Regions from separate parts of the Homo sapiens genome. Here regions 1, 2 and 3 are each linked to region 4. Evidence: promoter capture Hi-C in 16 types of primary human blood cells and fetal thymus (Javierre and others, 2016). All regions are on one chromosome and are shown on one strand. Each heading gives the region's core, a stretch centred on a gene start or on the middle of the fragment in contact. The rest is flanking DNA. Distances are from core to core; before and after follow the strand shown.

What was found. The method cuts DNA at HindIII sites, captures the fragments that hold promoters and counts their contacts. A CHiCAGO score of 5 or more calls a contact.
Region 1: a contact is called between a fragment that was not itself captured here and the fragment with the promoter of FJX1 in region 4, in 2 of 17 cell types (M0 macrophages and M2 macrophages). The highest score is 5.3, in M0 macrophages.
Region 2: a fragment that was not itself captured here is called in contact with the fragment with the promoter of FJX1 in region 4 in 2 of 17 cell types (M2 macrophages and endothelial precursors); the score reaches 5.8 in M2 macrophages.
Region 3: a fragment that was not itself captured here is called in contact with the fragment with the promoter of FJX1 in region 4 in 1 of 17 cell types (endothelial precursors); the score reaches 6.0 in endothelial precursors.

What each region holds. Positions count from the first base shown.
Region 1 is chr11:36,013,151-36,019,134 of GRCh38, reverse strand. All of the region lies in intron 1 of LDLRAD3 (low density lipoprotein receptor class A domain containing 3), which reads right to left. Among named protein-coding and RNA genes, the nearest start is that of MIR3973, 6.0 kb to the right of the region's middle. RefSeq lists an enhancer at 167-1,366. The HindIII fragment of the contact is 942 bases long and covers 893-1,834 here.
Region 2 is chr11:35,966,654-35,972,042 of GRCh38, reverse strand. The region is part of intron 1 of LDLRAD3 (low density lipoprotein receptor class A domain containing 3); the gene reads right to left. It also overlaps the pseudogene WEE2P1. Among named protein-coding and RNA genes, the nearest start is that of LDLRAD3, 25 kb to the right of the region's middle. The HindIII fragment of the contact is 763 bases long and covers 2,617-3,379 here.
Region 3 is chr11:36,075,525-36,080,938 of GRCh38, reverse strand. All of the region lies in intron 2 of LDLRAD3 (low density lipoprotein receptor class A domain containing 3), which reads right to left. It overlaps LOC101928510 (a long non-coding RNA gene), which reads left to right and starts at 3,038. Exons shown (of 2, transcript NR_135064.1): 1 at 3,038-3,194. The HindIII fragment of the contact is 4,017 bases long and covers 1,656-5,414 here.
Region 4 is chr11:35,614,108-35,619,709 of GRCh38, reverse strand. It overlaps FJX1 (four-jointed box kinase 1), which reads right to left and starts at 1,250. Exons shown (of 1, transcript NM_014344.4): 1 at 1-1,250. The coding sequence starts at 1,073. RefSeq lists enhancers at 1-295, 296-930 and silencers at 503-772, 783-1,042, 1,063-1,132, 1,230-1,391, 1,213-1,542 and 1 more. The HindIII fragment of the contact is 8,334 bases long and covers 1-4,845 here.

The DNA.
Region 1 (5,984 bases), core at 114-2,613, 400 kb before region 4:
TACAGACAGCCGGACTCTCCAGCCAGGAGGAAAAATTTCACCTAATTAAATAAAAACAAAGCAGAAAACCAAAGCCTTCAATGCCAGAAAGAAGAAGTACTTGGTCTTTTATAGAGTTTTATAGCCAGAAATGCCCATCGAGATTTTTTTTTCTAAATGTGTGTTTTAAAACAATCCTCTATGTCCCTAATTGGAACTCCTTAAGAGAACTGCAAACAAACCAAGAAAAAAATGAATAAAGAAAACGAACAAGCATGGCACAAAAAATAAACATGGCTAATAAATGAAAAGATGCACAGCCTCACTAGCAGGTAAACAAATGCACGTGAAATGCCATTGTTTAGAACAATGCGACTGGCAAAAGTTGAAAAGATGAGTACTCTTGAGGGTTGGCAGGGTGAGGAAACTGGCACCCTCAGACCCTACTGGTGGGAGTATAAATTGGTACCATCTCTCTAGGGCCATTTGACAGCACCTGGCACAATTTATAATGAGCTTACCTTTGGACCCACTGATTGTATTTCTAGGAATCTAGCCTTAGAAATATATAAATGCAGGGAGAAACACATAAAAGGCTGGGTTTTTTTTATTTATAGCATCACTTGTAAAAGTCCAAAACTTTAAAGAACTCAAGTGTCTATAAGAGGAGATAGGTAAATGAAAGGGATCTTCAAAGTTTGTGAAAATGCATATTATGAAAAAATTATGCATGGATTTTAAAATTTTTCTGTACCCAAATAAACTCATACTAACTTGTTATAACATGTCTGAACAGGATCGAGCTTGAGGAACTAAGAAGGATAAGACATCAGTTTGAAAAAAGCCCCTATTGGAGCAACATGAATTCTGCTAAAACTGAAGCAAGAACAAACATCAAATTTATGATGAAGCTTGGGTGAAGGGATGATGAAATCACTGATGCTTTACAAAAAGTTTATGGGAACAATGCCCCCTGCCAAAATCAGCAGTTTACAAACACCTAACTCATTTTAAGACGGGGCAAGACAGTGTTGAAGATGAAGCCTGCAGCCGCAGACCATCCACATCAACTTTTGAGGAAAAAATTAATCTCGTTTGTGCCCTAATTAAACAGGATCCATGATAAACAACAGAAATAATAACCCACAGACATCTCAACTGGTTCAGCTTACACAATTCTGACTGAAAAACTGAAGTTTCTACCTGATGAATGCCAAAACTGGTGCACCCAGAACAGCTACACAGTAGAACAGAGCTTTCAATGGAAATTTTAAACAAGCGGGACCAAGATCCTGAAGCATATCTTTGAAGAACTGTATTAAATGAAACATGGGCCAGATGTAGTGGCTCATGCCTATAATTCCAGCACTGTGGGAGGCCAAGCGGGTGGATCACTTGAGGTCGGGAGTTGGAGACCAGCCTGGCCAACATGGTGAAACCCCGTCTCTACTAAAAATACAGTCATGGGGCATGGGGGTGCACGACTGTAATCCCAGCTACTCGGGAGGCTGAGGCACTCGAATTGCTTGAATCTGGGAGGTGGAGGTTGCAGTGAGCCAAGATCACGCCAATGCACTCCAGCCTGGAGAACAGAGCGAGACTCAAAAAAAAAAAAAAAAAGATGATAAAATATGGCTTAATCAGTACAATCATGAAGAAAAAGCACAATCAAAGCAATGGCTACCAAGAGGTGAAAGTAGTCCAGTCACAGCGAAAGTTGACCAGTCAAGAGTAAAGGTCATGGCAACAGTTTTTTGGGATACTTGAGAGCTATTTTGCTTGTTAGCTTTCTGGAAGGCCAAAGAACAATAATGTCTGCTTATTATGAGAGGTTTTGAGAAAGTTAGCCAAAGCTTTGGCAGAAAAATGCCCCAGAAAGCTTCACCAGAGAGTCTTCCTCTATCCTAGTAATGCTCCTGCTCAATTCAACTCATCCAACAGGGCAATTTTTTGAGAATTTCAATGGGAAGCCATGAGGCAGCCTCCTTACAGTCTTGGCTTCTGATTTTGTTCCCTAATCCTAAAAATCTTTCAAAGGCAAATGTTTTTCTTCAGTTAATAATGTAAAAAACACATTGACATGGTTAAATTCCCAGAACCCTCAGTTCTTTAGGGATGGACTAAATGGTTGGTATCATCGCTTACCAAAGTGCCTTGAACTTGATGAAGCTTATGTTGAGGAGTAAAGTTTATATTTTTATCTTTTAATTATGTCTTTCCACAAACTTTCTGAGGTCCCCTCCTATGATGCAATATAGCCATAGTACCACATCAGCCTTTAAAAAGAATTCAGGAGTTAGAACGTACTGACACGGAAGAATAGCCACAATAGAGTCAGAAGGGAAAGAGCAAGTTGGAAAACAATATGTATAGCAGAATCCCATGTTTGTTCATCGCTAGAGATGTAGATGTATAGTGTACTGGTATTTACATTTATATCTGCACAATCTTAGAACACACACTCTGCAGGGAAGGAACTGAGAGGTCCTTTTAGAATGTGGGTATATTTTCTATTGGCATCTTTTCTTCAGAACCAATTGCTTAAAGTGTCACCATAGTAAATATGCCTGGAGAACTTACGAAAGCGGCCAAGATGATTTAGGGGAGAGGTGGCATAGCGCTGCTCATTGTAAAAATACATACACACAGAGAAAGATTTGTTCCTTTAACATTAAGAAACAAAACCCAAAAGGAAACAGTCATCTTACTCACCAAATTACAAAATATTTTCATGAAGCATTCCTTAAAGCACAAGAGAAGTAAGTTTGGGATAAGAGTACTTGATACAGTCAGAAACTAATAGTCCCAAATGTTGGCTCAAACTAAAAAGAAAAACTGAACAAGGAATCACTTGGAGAAACCTGTGGGTGACTGCTTATTAATGAGTTAGCATAGAAAATGACCCAAGGGCTATGTTTCCTTTTATTCCCTTTTAGAACACAAGTGTATTCTATAAAAGCTCTTATGAGCCACCTTCCACAGCCACACTTCTCCCCTCCCTTCTGGCCAGCCCCACTCCCCACAAGAGGCCCACACCTCAGTTGCCTGGGTGGGATGCCTCTGACTCTGATTAAGGGATGTAAACGTCATTCGTCCTCTGCGGGGAATGTGGCAGGTCTCTCCAAATCTCACTTGCCCTCCCTGTGAGCTCACACTTACAGCCTGCTCTGGACTCCTATTTCCATGCTACTGGGTCTTCCAGGTGGCATCAGGCCACGATTTCTGCTGGAAAACAGACGAGCTCATTCAAGGGCGCCTGGAACAAGAGTGCTGGAGTCTGGAGCCCAAGGCTTGTGGGAGGTCGGGTCGCCAAGGTTTTGGAGTTGTCCTTGCAACCCAAGTGGGTGGAGGGTTATCCTACAACCCACCTCCTGGAAGATGAGGTGGAAACTAGATCTTTTTAACGTGGAGTAAAAGGAGCCAGACATTCTTGCCAGTTCAAAAACAGAAGAAAGGAATCTGTGATGTTGGAAGTCAGAACAGTGGCGGGGGGCAGGGGGAGGATGGAGTGGGGGCACCACCGGGGCTCTGGGGTTGGCAATGCTGTACTTCTTGAGCTAAGCCCTGGTTCCCCAGGTGTGTTTACTTCATGGAAATTCATAGAGCTCCCCAGTTAACATCTGCGCGCTCTTCGGTATGTGCGTTAAGTTTCTATAAAAAGTTTACTTAAATAAAAAGTAAAAAACATGTTTTTGAACAGCACAGCTGGCTTATAGACACCATTCCTCTCCTTTCTTCCTTCTACAGCCTGAGCAACCAGCAACCTCACTATCAAGTCCAAGAGTTCACAATGCAATGACAAGGGGTGGGGACGGGGACAGGCAATGGGGGCAGGGGGCGGGGGGGGGGAATGGCATGTCCCGGATTTATTTTTAATTGATTCACTCATTTTCTCTGAATACTCAAAACAGCCCCACTCCTTTTCTGCAATGCCCAAAATGGCACGAGCCACACCCTGATAAACCCCAAGCATGCAAACTTCTCAGACCTGGCGCAAGGCTCTGCGGTGGCATCTACTGAAGCTCGGCTTAACAGCCAGACTCTGGGATGCATGCAGAAAAGTCTACATGGCTGCTGTCGCTTCAGTTCCAAAATGAATCTGAACAGGGAGTAGGGGACTGCCCTGGAAGCCAATTCCAGCTCCAGTTACAATCCAACTCACTTTCCAAACTCTTCTGGGATTATTCTTGGTTATCAGGAATCCTAGGGGGTTCTTCACTGAACTTTTCCACATGGTTCGTCTGGGGGCTCCCCCCTTCTTTTGTTTAAACATTTTTTATTTGTCTTTGGCAAAAAATAAAATAAAAATAAATCATAAAGTTTATAGCAAGCTATACAGAGAGAAAAGCCATCCAGAATAATTTATGTTTGATGAGTCTACAGATTAGACAACTGAATGCTGATTTCTGCCTGCAGCCAAGGGAGATGTCTGAACCTGGCTTTCTTCCTCTTTTCTGCCGTAATAATTCTTTCAAAAAGGCACTGCCCTGTCATCACCACTGCCCAGATAGATGTTCAGGAAGGAGTCTGAACCCTGGGAGAGGAAGGCTGATTTCACCTCGCCAGCAAAGTTTCTGCCACCTCCCCATGGCAGGCGGGAAAGGAGGGAGCAGGTGTGATGGGCCACCCAGCCAAGGGGAGTTGTGACTTTAAGAGCACTCCAGGCGTTACCATCACTGCAGGTACCATGCACATCCCATACTGCACCCTTCCAGCCGCTTCCATTCCTTGGGCACAACAGAAGTTATCATTTCCCATAATGGTGTTACACAGCATTTTCATTAAAGCCTAGGCTGGTAATACCATTCCTTTGTATTTAGTACACAGCTCCATGCCGGTCATGCACCCCTCTCTCTGTCTATCTGTCTGTCTCTCTTTCTCAGATCAGCTTCTTGTGTTCCCACAAAACAGCTTCTGTTCAAACTTCTGCCCAGAGCAACTCCATCTCCAGACACCTCTCCAACCCCAGTAAAAATCCCAAACTTGTGTAAACACGCAAAGGTCTGCTCAAAGCTCAGCCTCCAAGAACAGGGAGGCGTGGAAGGAACACCTCAGCACACACTTGCCAGGCCCAAGAATCACAGGCCCACAGTTCAGCAACAGGACACACAACCAAAAACCACAGGAGGAAAGGTTTCAAAAGAAAGAACCAACTGAAGACTTTTTTACAAAGTATCTTTTTGAGGAAAAAAAAGGGGGTGTGCCTGCAAAGCCTGCCTTACCTTAGCTCTCCACCAATGTCTTCCTGATCCTAGCGGACAACACTTATCTATGGGGCAGCAGCAAAACTGGTGGATGGGAGGCAGAAAGATTTCAAGGCATCTGTAACAGCCACTGTCAATCACCCCAGCTAGAGAGAAGGAAAAAAACTCAGGCACACTCCCCTGGGGGTTTGCAAACTCCTGAGAAGAAAAGGAAACAGACTTTGTAAAACACCATCCAAAGAAATAGACATCACTCCTAAAGAAAATATGGCACATATATACCATGGAATACTATGCAGCCATAAAAAAGAATGAGTTCATGTCCTTTGCAGGGACATGGATCAAGCTGGAAGCCATCACTCTCGGCAAACTAACACAGGAACAGAAAACCAAACACCACATGTTCTCACTCATAAGTGGGAGTTGAACAATGAGAACACATGGACACAGGGAAGGGAATATCACACACAGGGGCCTGTAGGGGGGTGGGGGGCAAGGGGAGGGAGAGCATCAGGACAAATACCTAATGTATGCAGGGCTTAAAACCTAGACAATGGGTAGACAGGTGCAGCAAACCACCATGGCACATGTATACCTATGTAACAAACCTGCACATTCTGCACATGTATCTCGGAACTTAAAGTAAAAAAAAAGAAGAAGAAGAAACAGACATCATTCCTTCAAAGTCCCTTTGCATCAGCAAACTGCTGAGAGGCTAAGAAGCCCTGCTAATAAGCACACAATTTCAGAAAAAAATGTATTATTACCCAACTGCCCTTATGAATCAGGCATTATCCTCAG
Region 2 (5,389 bases), core at 1,749-4,248, 350 kb before region 4:
AAAACCAGTTGCCAGAGAACATCTTACTGACAACTGGGACTCCTCCCCCACACCGGCAGCTCCTTCAGTGTTCCCATAAACCAGTGAATGGAGCCACCATCCATTCAGATAGAATACTGGGATCTTCCTGGATTCTTTCCCCACTCCTTCCCCATCCCAATAATCAGTTTTAAGGCTCCTACACAGTTCTGTAATCTGTCCTCTTCCTCCCACCTCTGTAGATCTCCCTGGTCCACACCACCTTCCTCTTTCCTGTGAGTTCCCGGCTGTTCTGAATACCCACAATATTGCTCCCCTATCCATTCTCCGCCCTGAGGCTCAATTCATCTTTTTGGTTCTATATTCGTACCCTGGGACTGCCATCACAAAATGCCACTGACCGAGGGGCTTGAATGACAGACATAGTTCTGGAGGCTGGAAGTCCAAGTTCAAGGAGTCAGCAGGTTTGGCTTCTCAAGAATTCTCCTTGGCTTGCAGATGACCACCTTCTCACTGTGTCTGCACATGGTCCTTCCTCTGTGTATGTGCATGCCTGGTGTTTCTCTGTGTATCTAAAACTCCTCCTCTTACAAGGACATAGGTCAAACTGGGCTACAGCCTATCCTAACAGCCTAACAGGTAACTTAATTATCTCTTTAAAGGCCCTATCTCCAAATACAGTCACCTTCTGAGGTACTGAGGGTTAGGGCTCAACATATGAGTTTTGGGGATGCAAATCAGCCCACCACAGTGTCCAACAGGTCATGTCACTCCCCTCAATAAAATCTTTCACTGGGGTCCCAACGCCCTTGAAATAATATCCTTTCCAAAACATGACCCCTGCCTACTATTCTCTCTCCCAGATGGAAGGGTAGTGTAGGCAGGGGTGGGAGTTCAGATGGGGGTAAGGGTACAGGCAGAATTAGAGAGATCAGGAAGAAATGGCACCCTTTCATTATCTCCCTTCCAGTCATGCTTCTTCCAACTACAGATAGACTTTGGGCAAGCTGTCTAAACTCTCTGCAGAATGGGCTGGGTCCTTGATGACCCACAGGCCTGGCTGAGCACCAGGGAGAGATGGCATACTCCACCCCATGCTTAGATCCCCTGGACAGAAAATACCAGGCCTGTATCCTCTCTATAAAGGTAAAGGTTCCCCCAGAGTCAATCAAGGAATCTTCTGGCCAAATCCAGGATTAGAAGCAGATCTAAACTGCAACTGGGCAATCTCCCTTTGAGACTAAACTGCTCATTAAGATGTCCTAGATACCCAGCATTAGAAAGTTACCACCTTGCTGGCTCCATCATGAAAATGAATGCATGGACTTGGCAGCGGCATTATGCAAGACCTGATTTGTCTGTCTCCACTTATGAACTGAGTGACCTGGGGCAAGATGCTTAACACCTCTCAGCCTTGATGTACTCATCTATAAAATGGGGTTAATATTCTTCTAAGTAGTTCTAACTATACTAATTCCAAGGGCTGCTGTAATTAATTGCCACGAACTGAGTGGCTTAAAACAACAAAAATATGTTCTTTCACAATTCTAGAGGCTAGAAGTTCAAGGTGTCGGCAGGGCCATGCTTCCTCTGAAAACTCCAGGGCAGAATCCTTCCTTGCCTGGCTTCTGGAGGTTGCTGGCAATCCTTGGCATTCCTTGCCCTGCACCTACATGCTCCAGTGTCTGCCTCTGTCTTCACAAGGCCATCTTCCCTCTGTGAGTGTCTGTGTACCCCCTCTTATTACAAAGACACCAGTCATGGGAATTAGGGCCCACTCCAGTCCAACAGAACTGTGTCTTAACGAATTACATATGTCAAGACCCCATTTGCAAATTGGTTTGCATTCACAAGTACCAGGTTTTAGGGCTTCAGTGTACCTTTTCAGGGGACACAATTTAACCTGTGACACCTACTTGAATGATTGTGAGAGGATTAAATAATGACCTAAAAGCACTAAGGACAGTACCCGGAGCACACAGTAAGCACTCCACACAGAACAGTTTTCCTCTTCCAGTGTGTGGCTAACATACAGCAGGCTACTTTCCCAGAAGATCAGGCCTAGCTTCTTTGCTCCTCATAAAAACAAAAACCACAAGCAAGAAACCAAAAGCAAATAAGCCGGTATCCTCATGGCTAATGCTGTATTAAGACTTTTAAAATAAACAAAGCAGGACTTGGTACCATGTCACTGAAGTAAATATTTTATCAGTGGGTCTCTGAAAAAAACTCCACGCATGCACGTGGGCCCCACATGCCTCCTCCCTGGAGGAGCTGGTTCTGCCAATAAGGGGCCTCAAGGGCTGCTTGAAAGCAGAGAGGAGTTTACTCAAGGTGTGCACCTCTGGTTCCAACATCTGGCTGCATTCCAGCTCAGCAAAGCCTTCCAGAAACAAGGCAACACGGGGCCTATGGACACCTAAAGCCCATGCTGAGGCTGAACCCTGAGCAACCTCAACACTGGTGCTTCCCAGGAGAGCCAGGCAAGAAAGCTCAGCCAAGGAAGTGATTAATAAATCATGGGCAAAGCTTTTTCCCATTCTCTGCTCGGTGGAAACCAAAACGCCTATCACAATGATCAAAGCTGCTGCCTGCAACTTCAGATTGACTTTGACTGAGCTCATTAAGTCATAAGCTTCTGCAGAGTGGATTTTCTCCATGGATAATGCTTGAAAATTAGGAAGTTAAGTGGCTTGGGAGAACCTGGGACCCATTAACCAACTAGCCAGTCAGAGCTTCCATTAAAAGAGGAAAATGGCTGAAAATCTGAAATCTGTTCTTGGGCAGCTGTTCAAAGATTCTATTATGAGTTTTCAGGGGAAGCCCCTTGGGGTTCACACCAGCGTGAGCAGAGAAGCCTCCATGGACATGAAGTGAGAAGGACCTCGACCGAGAAGACAGAGGCCTGGGTTGAAATCCTGGCTGCATCTGGAATATTAGGGATTTCTTTCCTCTCTCTGAGCTTCGGTGTCCTGAGGGGGAAGTGCCCCCCAGTCTGAGGCATGTGGATTCCACGGCTGGAACCTGTGTATAAAATCGTGACTCTGAGCCGGGGACTTGGTACGCACACCATATGCACTTAGGAAAGGGCTGTTCGTAAACAGATCTGTAGACGACAGAGTCCCATCTGCCAGTTACCAAATGATGAGGCCACACGTGAGGAATTTAACCATCTGAAACAGCTAGATGTTAGCTGGTAGAGGGAAAGGCAGGCTAGAGTTGTGAAACCTGCCAGGTTAAATAATTTTCTCCTCTTTCTGCAGAATCACGGTGTTCTCTTGCAATAGATCTTGCCTATGTTGTAAAGCTCTTTGGCTGAGATGGATGACAGAAATATTAACAAAAAACTGAGGCATTAAACATAAATTAAATTAAAACATTAAAACTGAGAAATTAAGCTTTTCCTGTTTGGAAGAAGAGACTCAGAATGTAGGGCAAAAGAAAGCACAGGGAAGCAGGGAGGCCCAGAGCCAGATCCCAGAGAAGAGTGAAGTGCAGAATTCAGAGGCAATGCTTACATTGCCCAGGACTCCTCTCAGTAACGTGCATGAACTCAACACACCTCGGGAAAAAGAAAAAGAAGATCCAGATCAGATTTTGAGGACTCCAGTGTCACACCTTCTCAAATATCCTGAGACACCAGGCCAACCAGGCAACAGGAACAAGCAGCCACATGGTGCCAGCCCCTCTACTCCCAAAAGCCCGCTGAGCCAGACGTTATTTCTCCAACAGCAAAGCCTCCTTCCAGAGGCTCTAAGCATTTGATGCTCACATCCACTCCTCCCAAGGATGAGATGACCTCACTGGCTCTGGTCAATACTAATCCCTTCACCCCAAAGTCCTATAGAAAATTATTCCTTCAATCCAGTGTCAAGAGGAAAATTCGAGATGATCTTGAGGAAGCTGGTCCAGAGGAAGGCAAGGAAGAACAAGGGCTGCCTGCTGAGACATGTGTTCTATGAGAAACCAACATGGCTTCCTACTATAAAAAAGAATGCTCGGAGGTAGAAAAAATTGGGGTTGGTGAATTTGGTACAGTCTACAAGTGCATTAAAAGCCTGGATAGAAGTGTTTATGCAATAAAGCACTATATGAAAACTTTTTCAGGATTTCACCTGAGAATTTGGCTTTGCGTGAAGTTTATGCTCATACAGTGTTTGGACATCACCCCACCTGGTACATTACTACCCCTTACAGGCAGAAGATAACCATATGATCATTCAGAATGGATACTGCAATGGCAGGAGCTTGCAGGCTGCTATATCTGAAAACACTAAGTCTACTAATCACTTCCAAGAGCCAAAACTCAAGGACATCCTTCTACAGATTTCCCTTGAACTTAAATACAGCCACAACTCTGGCATGGTGCACCCGGACATGAAACCTTGTAAAACCTTCCTTTGTCACAAGATGCAAAGTGACTCCTCTGGAGTCACAGAAGTTGAAAATGAAGCTGATTAGTTTCTCTCTGCCCATGTGATATATAAAATTGGTGACCTAGGCCATGTGACATCAATAAGCAAACTCAAAGTGGAAAAAGCAGATAGTTGCTGCCTAGCAAATGAGATTTTGCAAGAGGATTATTAGTACCTTCCCAAAGCAGACCTATTTGCCTTGGGATTAATCACTGCAATGGCTGAAGGAGTAAGGACATTACCCATCAACAGTGCTGCAAGGCACCATAACCATGAGAGTAACTTCCCAGACATTCCTCAGGAGCTCTCAGAAGACTTTTACAGTCTGCTCAAGCACATGATCCACCCTGATCCAGGAGAGAGACCTTCTGCAGCAGCTCTGGTCAGAAATTGGCCCTGGCCCTCCCTGGGGAAAGCAGAAGAGCTCTAGCAGCAGCTGAATTTGGAAAAGTCCAAGACAGCTGCACTGGAAAGGGAACTAAGGGAAGCCCAGCAGGCCCAGTCCCTGCAGGGAGACTTCCATCATGGTGACCCTCGGGTCTTTGGGACCACACGGGATCAGAAAACACCAAATGCCTGGTAGGAGGAAAGAGTGCAAGGTCTTCAAGCTTTACCTCAGGACAGCATGAGCCTCTGAACTAAAGGAAGAAAACAGGAAACAGCCCTTGCTTGGCCTTATGGATTAGGAGGTTGCCCTACCAAGGATCCCAGGGATTCGCTGTACATAGAAAGGAATAGAATTTGGTTTTGAATTCAAGTAACAGTTTACAAGAAAATGTGCCTGGATTTCCACAGTACTTCCCAGGTTATATGATGCTATTTCTGAAAAAGAGTTCCCAACCCCTTTGTGGAAGTGGGTCTCCTAATATATATACCCTTTCTGATATTGTATTTACTAAATAAATGGCTTCACCATTACATGAGGTGGGTAAAAGTAAGACTGTATATAACTTGGACATCTCTGAGCTGGTTGTTTAATTGCAGAACAAAAACGC
Region 3 (5,414 bases), core at 2,415-4,914, 460 kb before region 4:
CCTACGTGATCAGCCCCTGATAAAAATTCTGGATACTGAGTCTCTAGTGAGTGTCCCTGGTGGATAACCTTCCACATATGTTGTTACATTACAACTCATTGCTAGGGGAATTAGTGCATCCTTTGGGCTCAACTGGGAGAGGACTCTTGGAAGCCTGAACCTGGTTTCCTCTGGACTTTATTCCATTCGTCTTTTACCTGTGTTGATTTTGCTTTGTATCCCTTTGCTGTAATTAATCACAGCCATGAGTATGATCATATACTGAGTCCTGTGAATCCTCCTGGCAAATCGCTGAATCTGGGGTGGTCTTGGGAGCCCCAAACAAATGAGTATGGTTCTTATCACCACTTCATAAATGCGCTTTGAGAGATGAAGTGACTTGCCCAAGGTCACACAGCTGGAAAATCAAGCACCGGGTGAGGCCCGGCATGCAGATTCCAGAAGCCCTGATTTCAACCAACTCAACAGCATTGCCTCTCTCTCTGCCAGAGGCTGTCACTTTTCACAACAGAAGGCAGACTCCTGCTCCAAATAAATTCTTCTTCCACTCATGCTGCACAAACAGTTTTAGCAGAAACTGCTGTAACTTGGGCTTAATTGAGTGTCCTGCTAAATAACAAACAGCCCTGTGGGGTAATGTACTCTCCCGTTAATGGTTCTGGTGCTCCGGCTTGCGATTAGGAGATGTAAGATGAGACCTATTGCTACATCCCAGGTAGCAGGCCCTATGTAGCATCCCTCTTGTCTTCTGTCTTAGAGGCAGGACCCATGGTCCTCCAAGAAGGAAGGGCCATTTCTTTGAAACAAACAGGCAATAAATTACCTCCATGTTCTTGCTGTCTGTAACATGCTGACTTTGGCAACAGCCAACTCACAATCATCAGGGTTTTAAGGCCTGAAATGTTCCAGGTTTCAAAAACCCATGTGGCTTTGTTTCACCTTGGAACTTCTGTCATGGTACTGGTGAACTCTTCTCAAAGCATAAACTCTGGACAGTCCTGGGTTCAAATTCCAACTCTATTTTTTATGACTTTGGACAAGTTTCTAAATTTTGGTGGACTTCAGTTTCCTTACTGTGGCATCCTGATAAGTAAGCAACAACAAGTAAGAGGGCCCAAGTCGGGGAGAACAATTGTTCCAAGAAATGGCTAATCACAAACCCACTGGCCCAACATCCTTTCATTAAATACCTCGTTCCACAAGTAGGCCCCTAGTCTAGCACGACCCTATAAAACTTTTCTCCAGCCCCTGTGGCTTTGCAGATAGCCCCTTCGCTGCTGTGCTGCCTCTTGCACCCATGCAACATATTTTTGTACTTTCGCTAACAAATCTGCCTTTCTTTACCTATGACTGTCTCGGTATTCTTTCACCACCCACAACATCAGCCCCAACCAGTTGTATCCACAGCACTTATCAGTAAATTGGAGGTGATATCTACTACCTTGGGCTCTAGCAAAGATTAAGTGAGATAATCTATACAAAACAGTATAGAGCATAGAATACAGTAGATGCTCAATTAATGGTAATGCTTATGCTATTTATCATCATCCTCATCCTCATCCTCATCCTCCTCATCATCACTAAGTTCATAGAATTTAAAAACTGATCCTTGGGCTGACAGAAATTTTTTTCTGATGACCAAAGTTTAGAAAGCTTATTATGAAAGGTCTCTATAAACTGGTATGAAGTGATTTCTAGGACATACTGATAAGTCAAAAAAGTAAAGTAGAAAAGAGTATCTATAGTACTGATGGCAGCAGTGGGCTGTTCAGAGTGGCCGCTGCCATCACACCAGCTGCAGTAAGGAAGCGTGAGCTGTGGCAGCAGGAGTGGCTGCAGGAGCAGCAGTGGCGGCAGTAGGTCCCCTGTGCCCTGCGTCCCTGAGGGAGCCAAAAACCCCACCCTCACACGGCCTGGTAGGATCCGCTCCCAGACCTGAAGCCTCTGCCACAGTCTTAACCTCGCTCTCCGCTGTATCCCAGGGGCCTGCGAGCACCCAGCTGATGGCACAGCTGGGACTTATGGGACTGGCCCTGGAAGCGTCAGGTTCATTTGTGTGGGGTTGACTGGGGCTGCCGTACCACCTGCACCTTGCCCGCCACCCTGGGAGCCACTGTGACAGGGCCAAGCTGAATCGTCCGCTGGTAGGGAAGCAGTGTGGTCGGTCATGGAGAGGCAGGCAGAGAGGGGCACTGAGGCAGAGCTGGGCCCAGGGCAGTGCCACACTCTACAGTGTCAGCAGAAGCATGGAGCAGGCAGGAGTCCCACCCTTCTGGGCATGGCTGCAGCCACCCAAATTGCAGCTGCAGATGCAGACATCTCTGCACTCCCTGGGCCCCCCTTACTCCCACAGGCTCAGAGGTGTCTGCTCCAGCTCCCTGGCCTCTCCCTGCTGTCAGCACCCACTCAGATCATGGAGCAAAGTTGAGGATGAGCCTGGGAACTATTGCAACCCAGCCGGATGTGTGCACGCTCAGGGCAGCACTGACACACAAGTCCCCTGCCACTTCAGCCGCCTCCGGACTTTGGGTGAAGACAAACATGGGAGGGAGACCAAGGGGGTGCTGAAGACAGCTTGGCACTGCCCTGCAGGTGCCCGTTGGTACAAACCTGGGCACCATGAAAGGCAGCAGGAGGCAGACATGCTCCTAGGCAGAAGGGGTAGGTCCCAGGTGAAGCCCAATCTTCAAGCCAGGGAAGGCCTGAGGCCTGAGGGCCAGGCTGTGGGTCCCGCAGACTGGAGTGGGAACTTTTCCAGGCCTGCCCATGGATTAATCAGCATGCACTTCCTCCCCTCTGAGGCTCATAAAAACTCCGGACTCAGCCAGACTTGAGGAGACAACAGGACAAGCTGCAGAGAGGAGCTACCCTCTCTGCTGAGAGCTGAACACTCATCAAGATACCCTGGCTACGGAGAGGAGCTGCCCACTGTGAGTCTCCTCTGAGCTGTTCTATTACTCAATAAAGTTCCCCTTTGTCTTGCTCACCCTCCACTTGTCTGCGTACCTCATTCTTCCCGGATGCAGGACAAGAACTAGGGACTCACTGAATGGCAAGGCTAAAAGAGCTATAACACAAACAGGGCTGAAACATGCTGTTTGCCCACCATGTCGCAGCAGACAAGAGGAGAGAAGAAGGAAGAGAAGAGCTGTGGCCCTTTGGGGAGCCCAGACCTAGGAGCAACCCCAAGCCAGGTTTGTGATACACTCTTTAGGGCTCTGTGGTTGCTGAAGTCTCCAAGGTTCTGGGCACCACACTGCATTCCCCAGTGTCAGCCATGGAAGCTGCTTAAGGTATGCCTGGTCCACCTGCAGCCTTGCAGGGAGCTGGCACCCATGCTGGTGCCTGGAGCTGCCTGCCCCACCACAGCTGGCATACCTGGCTGTGCAGTGGCTGAACTCCACGCTCGCTCACACAACCCTCACTGTTCTGCAACTGGCTTGCCCTTGGCAGGTATGGGATCTAGGCTGGTAGTGGGAGCCGAACGCAGCCTGCCAGGTCAAGTAGGCAGAGAAGCCCAGCAGGCCAGAGCAAAACTTGGGCAAAGGTGTCACTGGCCACAGAAATTTCCAGTTGGCAAAGTGATACCCCAAAGATCCCGTAACAGTACTTTGCTGCCCTCCATATAAGAAGAGAAGGGGTATAAGAAAACATACATGTATTGGCTTATCTGTGCAAAAGAAATACAGGAGGATAAACCAGAAACTAAAGAGATTGGTTATCTACAGGGTGTGAGTGGGAAAGGAGTGAAAAAACATGGGGAACTGATATCAGACAAGATAACAGGATGAGAAGGTTACACATTTCTCCGAGTATATCTATCTGACTTAACATATACTTGTGTAAATATACTCAGAGCAGTGTATATCTTAGAACTACGGTAGTATTTTATATACCCCAAAAATAAACACTTAAAATCAATCACATGTGGGGAAAACTCAAAATGAAATATAAACAATAACAAGTAAACATAACTGTATTACTAGTAAATAACACCACCACACTGAAGGGGATGGGGAAGAAAAGAACCAGCCTAAGTAACTCAGGAAAACAGTATGTTGACTAGATTCCATAAAGCTAAAGAAAAAAAAAATCTACAATACTGTACACTAGTTATATTTGTTTCTCCCAAGGGTATGGGTCATCAATTCTGAAACTGTCTTCTGGGTGCACTAGGGGTGAACAAATATGTAAATATATTGTAAGATTTCTGTCAGAGAAAGAAGTTGCAAATAAAGAAAGTGGGAAGGCTAGGCCAGGCGTATTGGCTGACGCCTGTAATCCCAGCACTTTGGGAGGCCGAGGTGGGTGGATCACAAGGTCAGGAGTTCAAGACCAGCCTGGCCAAGATGGTGAAACCTCGTCTCTACTACATATACAAAAAAATTAGCCGGGCGTGGTGGCGGGCACCTGTAGTCCCAGCCACTCAGGAGGCTGAGGCAGAGAACTGCTTGAACCCGGGAGGTGGAGGTTGCAGTGAGCTGAGATTGTGCCACTGCACTCCAGCCTGGGCGACAGAGAGAGACTCATCTCAAAAAAAAAAAGACAGTGAGAAGGCTAAAGTGAATCCTGAGGCTTTGGTTCATTGAAACTGAACCAAAATTTCCAATGGAAATTTGAAGGAATTGGAGGTCACCAGTATGAACTCAAGGTCTTTAAAAATTAGACAGACAGGATGGATGGATGGATGGATGGATGGATGGATGGATGGATGGACGGATGGACAGACAGACAAAAATAAATATTGACTTGTGTGTATGTAAGGGATAATGCACATACATACATTTCCTAGCTCTGTCTGCTGAGAGAAGACTAGAAGCAGTACATCTCAACAGCAATAAGCACACCTAGCACCCAGATCTTGGTTTCTAAATACCATTATCCAGCAAAGAGAACCAACCTCCTTGGAGAAATAGTTGATTCCAGGAAGAATATACAAACAAGATGAACCCAGAGTATCTTCTGTTGCCAGAAGTGTCAAAATAAAGTAAATAAGTGTCCAAATATCATGGGGGCATGTCAAAAGGACACAGAAGTTAACCTGAAGTTCCCAATAGCCAAAGCTAGAACCATCCAAGCAACAAAATCAACAACGGTATCAGATTATGACACAGAGAATAAAATAAATATCTGAGGCCAACAAAATAAGGATCTAGTACCTGAGACTGATACCAAAAATTGTTGAATAAGTAAGTAAAAAGGGGAGAAAGGAAAGTTCTTCCTTATTGAAGACTTCTCATTAATAAATGTAGAAGAGGTGCAGGAAACAGAAAGTCACCACGAAGCAGACACTATTGTAATAACTGTTACAGGCAAGATCTGGCAATGGATGCTAAAATTAGAAAATAAACACTTGAGGAGAAATAGGATATGCACAGTGTCAAAGTATCTTCCGCAATATGTTATTAATTACA
Region 4 (5,602 bases), core at 1-2,500:
TCGTTATACTTGTCCCACATGCCTGCTACCCGGTAGCCGTGCACCAAGCCCGCCTCATTGTCCAGAAAGACCAGCGCCCCGCCCGGACCGCGGTGCAGGTTGCTGGTGGCACGCTGCATGACGCGCGGGTCCCACTGCAGGCTGAAGAGGTTGCTTACGAGCCGGTCGAAGTTGGCCGTCAGGTAGTCGAAAAGGATTAAGTCGGTCCATTGTACTAGGTCCACCAGCTCCGCCTGGCTGAGGTTGGCCAGCTCACCCCCGGCATCCCGGAGGGGGCGCAGACGGCCGTCCTCCGAGCGCCAGGGCGCGGGCACCACCACGTCCGTGAGGTTGGGCAGCCAGCGTGTCAGGCTCACCACGCTGCCCTCGGTCCAGTGCGCAGCGCGCAGCTCCTCCTGCACCTGCGCCCACTGCGCGCCCCGAGCCTCCACCCGAGCCAGTGCCAGCGGCGGCACGTGGCGCTGGAGGCCCAGCAGGCGCGCCAGATAGTAAGACAGGGCCTCGCCCTGAATCTGCTCCGGGTTGATGCCGTAGCGCACGCAGGCGCGGGTGCCGTCGGCAAAACGGGCCAGTCGGTTGGAGCTGCGCCCGCAACCCCCGCGCTCCAGGGCCACCATCCGGGCGCCGCGAGCCGCCTCCAGCCACGCCGCCGCCTGGGCCTCCGAAAAGCCCGGGGGCACCTGCTCCTCCAGGCCGCGGCTCCAGAAGACGCCCCCGTGCACCGCGGCGCTCTCCTCCGGCCGGGGCTGCCTGGCTGACACGTGCCACCTGGGCTCGCTCCGGGACTGCCGGGGCGGGCCGTCCGCGCCGGCCGCCAGGGTGAGCAGCGCCCGGAAAGTTTTCAGGGAGCCGCCGCGGGCGTCCCACGCCAGGGGCGGGGGCAGAGGGAAGCGAGGCGCGGGCGCGGGGCCGCCGCTCCGGGCCGGGCGCCGTGGGAGTCGGTCTTCGGGCGGCCGGGAGGCGGGCAGCTCGGTCCGCGGCGGCAGGAGCCCTCCCCACAGCGCCAGCAGCGAGCCCAGCGCCAGCAGCCAGAGCCCCGCGGTGGCGGCGGCGCCCCGCATCCTCCTGCCCATGCTCCCGCGGCTGTGCCGGTGCGCCGCCGCCGCTTCAAGCCGAGCCCAGGCACCCGGGTCCCGGCGGCGAGGCGGGCCCGGCAGTTTGTGGGCTCCGGGGCTTCGGGCGCTTCGGCCCCATCGCGGCCGCGGGGCGCTGCGGGGCTCTGTCCGGCGCTCCGCCCGGCGCTGGGAACTCGAGTCCCCGCCGCTTCCCAGCTGCTTTTGTATTTCGCTGTGAGACCCTCCGGTGGGCGCGATTCACAGGCGCCCGGACCACGTGGGAGCCAGGGGGATCCCCCTCCCCCTCCTCCGCCTCCGCTCCCCGCCCCCCGCTCCCCCGCCCCCTTCCTCTCCTCTTCCACTTAAAGCGGCGATGGCTCCTTCCGAGAGGGAGAGGCGGCCCCACACTCGGTCCGGGACTTGGGGGCCTGGAGGAAGCCGGACTGGCTGCGCCCGCGCCGGGGCGTAGGAGGGGGTGGCGCAGAGCCGGAGTCTGGGGCCTGGCGGGAGGGACGCGCCCTGGGCCCTCGCGGGGGTGTCTTGGTCGCCGGGTCCCTTTGCCTAGGCAGCGCGGGTCTCCTGCAAACTTCAGACAGATTTCCACCTCTTTCCGAGCTCCGCCAGGCTAGGATCAGGCAGGGTCCCTTTGCTTTCTCAGTTTCTGTCTGGGTGATTCACGCTGCTTTATGTAAATCTCTGGGAATGTCTCCGAGCCACAGAGGATGTGATTCCAGCGGAAAGAGGAACCCGCTGTAGCCAACAACTTTGAACCGACACTCCCTTTTCCGAGCTCGCACATCAGCACCAATCAGTATTGGCCGCTCTGCCTTTCCCAACGGACTCCCAGGGAATGAAGCCTCGCTGTGCACGTGCCCCTTGAACACCTAGGCCATCTCCCATTCATTCATGCATCCATTCAACACAGCGACTGCCCCTCAGTTCTGGTTCTGCTTACCAGAAGCAAAATCCACAGATCCGGGTCCCAGTGCTGCTGAAATTTACATTCCAGTGGGACTCTCAGGTTGCTAAGAGAGATTATAGCCATCCAACCTCGTGTTGGGGAGAGGGGAGTCAGGGACGACTTTTCGAAAGAAATGATACCGTTTTGTCCATGAGGAAACTGAGGCACAGAGAAGGGATGGGTGTTGCTCAGGATTGCACAATTAGCAAGGGGCGAAGCTAAAAGTCAAACTCAGGTCTCCTGGCCGCATGCACTTGATTTTCCCTCCATTAAGAAAGATCAGTATTTTTTTTTTAATCAAGTCAGCATTCTCAAGTTTGAAATTCACTGTCATTTGACCACTTTGTTCCCCAAATGTGATTTTTCAATTAAAAGGATTTTTCAAATGGAAAGGAAAAAAACCTCAATCCCATACTGCATTTGATTTACTGCTTTTACGATTTAAGGGAAAAAGAAATGGTGGTGGTGGTGGGGGAGGGAGGTGGTGAAGGAGCAAAGAAAACAAAATGAACAACCTCTTCACCCCAACACATCTTCCAGCCACCTCTGGGTTACATTTACCAGGAAAACTTGGATGCCAGTCGGCCCTCCCTTACCTCTCTGTATCAGAATGAGTCCCAGATCCACACTGAGATTCCCAGGGTAGACACAAGATCAGGGGCATGGTGGAATCCACCTCTCAAAGGCCAGAGTTTGAAATCTGTTTCCTTACATGGTGTGTATCTTTTCTCTCCTTTCATCTTCCCATCAGGTGCACATGGGGGTTTTCAACTGGACTACCTCATCAGTTGGCACTGATTATGTTTTATTCTCCAAAGAAAAAACGTTCTAGGGTGATAGAGCGTTCCAGGGTGATAAAGCAGACACTCTTATGTTTATGGCTGAGCAGAGGCATCAAAAAACCACATTTGGAGTATTGCAGCACTGACCCAGGATACAGTCAAGTGTTTTCACTGGTGTGGTTAAGTACATACTGGATGAACTGTTGAATCTGTTCCCAACCACATGGTGGCTATACCATGCCATTTTATAACTCTTATCTGATAATGAGATTACTATGGCTCCCATATGGTTGCATCGAAATATATTAATCCATTCAAAGGTCTTATTTTTTTGGCCTATGTAAGCCCCTCCTCATCTTTCCCTAGCAGGCAGGGACTATGTCTTATTTTTTTATTTCTTATACCACCTAACATAGTATATTACACTAAATAAGCACTCAATAAATTTAATTTTTTTGTCTTTTGGTTTAACTTCTACTGGGATATATATGTATTTATTTGAAAGGCAGCCTCTTTCAGCGTGGGCAAACTATAAGCAAGATCGCCACCTAGTGGGCATAAGTAGAGTATCATCTAATTGGAGAAAAGTAGACATTTTTAACTGGATGATTAATTGTTGAAGTTAAATTCGGAAGACTATTAAATGTCTACTGTGTACCAAGCTATGTCCTAGGGGATATGGAGAAATCCAAAGTAGTTGGGGTCTCTGTCTTTTTGGCTGCTAACAAAAGCTGTAAGTAACTACCATTGTAAACTTCCTGGGGAGTCTGTCTTGTCCATTGTTTTATGGCTGCCTGGGCACAATGCCTGGCACTTAGTGTGTGTTCAACAACAATTTGCTGAATACATCGTTAGAATGCTAATGAGATGCAAGTAGCATGTATCAAGTTTTTTTAAATTAAATACCTTACTACTAAATAATGCAAAACAATTTTGTCCAACGGTTGTGAGTTATTGTTCAGCTGATTAAAGAATACAAAATAAGAACTTCCACTCATTTGAAAAAGAAAAAATATTGGTGAGGGTTTTGCATGATAGATGTGAGGGGAAGCACATGATTTTAATTCTGGGAGGGCTGGCTTCAAATCCAGAGACTAGAAATCCTGGAATCTCCTAACCATATTGCTGGTACTGATGAAAAAAACCCAGACTTAAATAAATTGACTAAGATCGTACACCTCATAAGATGGACTAATTTTATCATTGAGCAGCCCTTTGCCTATAGCCATAGGACTGAATGCATCATGTACCAGAACAGGATGCATTAATTTGTTAAACTTTAACAAATTAATTGAAATGCAGAAATACAGAAAACCAAAGGAACAAACACTGCCCCTTCCTCAAAGTGGAATGCAGTTTTGGAATGGTATTTGATTATTTGAGACAGGGTTTAAAAACATGCCTCTGTTTAGCTGTTAGATGAAAATACTCCCATTCTCCTTTATTTTCTGGACTGAGGACACTCCCCTGCCACCTGTGGCCAAACCACTTTGGCTCTGTGGGGTAGCATAGTTAATCACCTCAGTCACTTCTGCCCTCTGGCAGTTGCTTGGGGATGAGAAATCCATTTGCACTTTTATGACTTTCTTAATACTCCTTAGAATTTATCCCTGAGCCTGAACTTCCAATATCTTCAAACTTTTCCACAGTCCTGTTTGAAGAATGATCTGGTTCATGTAATGGTGCCTCCTGGGGGAAAGAGAGGAGGTGGAGTTGAGGGTTGGAAGCAGGGGAGGAGGCTTGGAATTGGAATATTTTCCAAGTCTGGCATTAGCACTTTCTGGCTTGTTCCTTGTTCTAGTTATTTACTTTCTGTGAGTTTCAGTTTCAGAACCTGAGAAATAAGTTAATAAATCCTTCCTAACTCACAGGGTTGTCATGCAGCTCAAGTGAAATATTAATAATAACCACAGCATCAGTGGCAGCAAACACTTATTGAACTCTTATTATGGGCTCGGTGTGGAGCTAAACCCTGCATGTGCTTTATCTCATGAAACCCCCCCAAAAGTATTATTATACCCACTTTACAGATGGGGAAGTGGAAGCTTAGCCAATCAGTGGAATGAGGTCATGCAGCAAGGAAGTGGCAGGGCTGCGATTCCAAAATGATGGGGACCAAACCTTTTGTAAATTATAAACTGCTAGGGAAATGTCAGGTGCAGAAATTATTACATTAAATCAAAATAGATTCAACTGAGATGAAATTTTGGTTTCATGTGTTCTCTGGGGTTTGTTCCCAAGTGAAATGGTTAAGAGTGTGAACTGTCAAGCCAGATTGTCTCATTAAAACCCAGTCCTGCCACTTACCAGGCATGTGACTTCGGGTAAGTTACTTAACCCCTTTGTGCCTCAGTGTATATATCTGTAAAATGCAATAAGAACAGTATTACTAGTATTACTAACAAAAATTATAACAATATACAATATCTCATGATTACTAGTAATAGGAACAAATCTTATAGATTATTGTGATGATTAAATTAGTGCTTATATTTAAAGTGCTTAAAAGAGCATCTAAGTGTTCACTATAGTATAGCTGTTGTTGTTCTTTTTCCTTTCTATTTCCTTTCTATTTCACTGTTTCAGTGCTCAGATGGGGATGTCTTCCTTCTCTTGTTGCTGTCCTCCACCAAGTCTCACTTGGTCTTGAGAGACCTAATACAAGTGGTGTTCCAGCTCAATGCACCTGCTTTATGCCTGAAATGGTGTCTTTCCTGATAATTTTGCAATATTTCTTCCCCATGGAGCTGGACCACCTGGCTTCTACCAAGGTTCCCAGTGTAACTCTTGTTAAATGCCCAGAG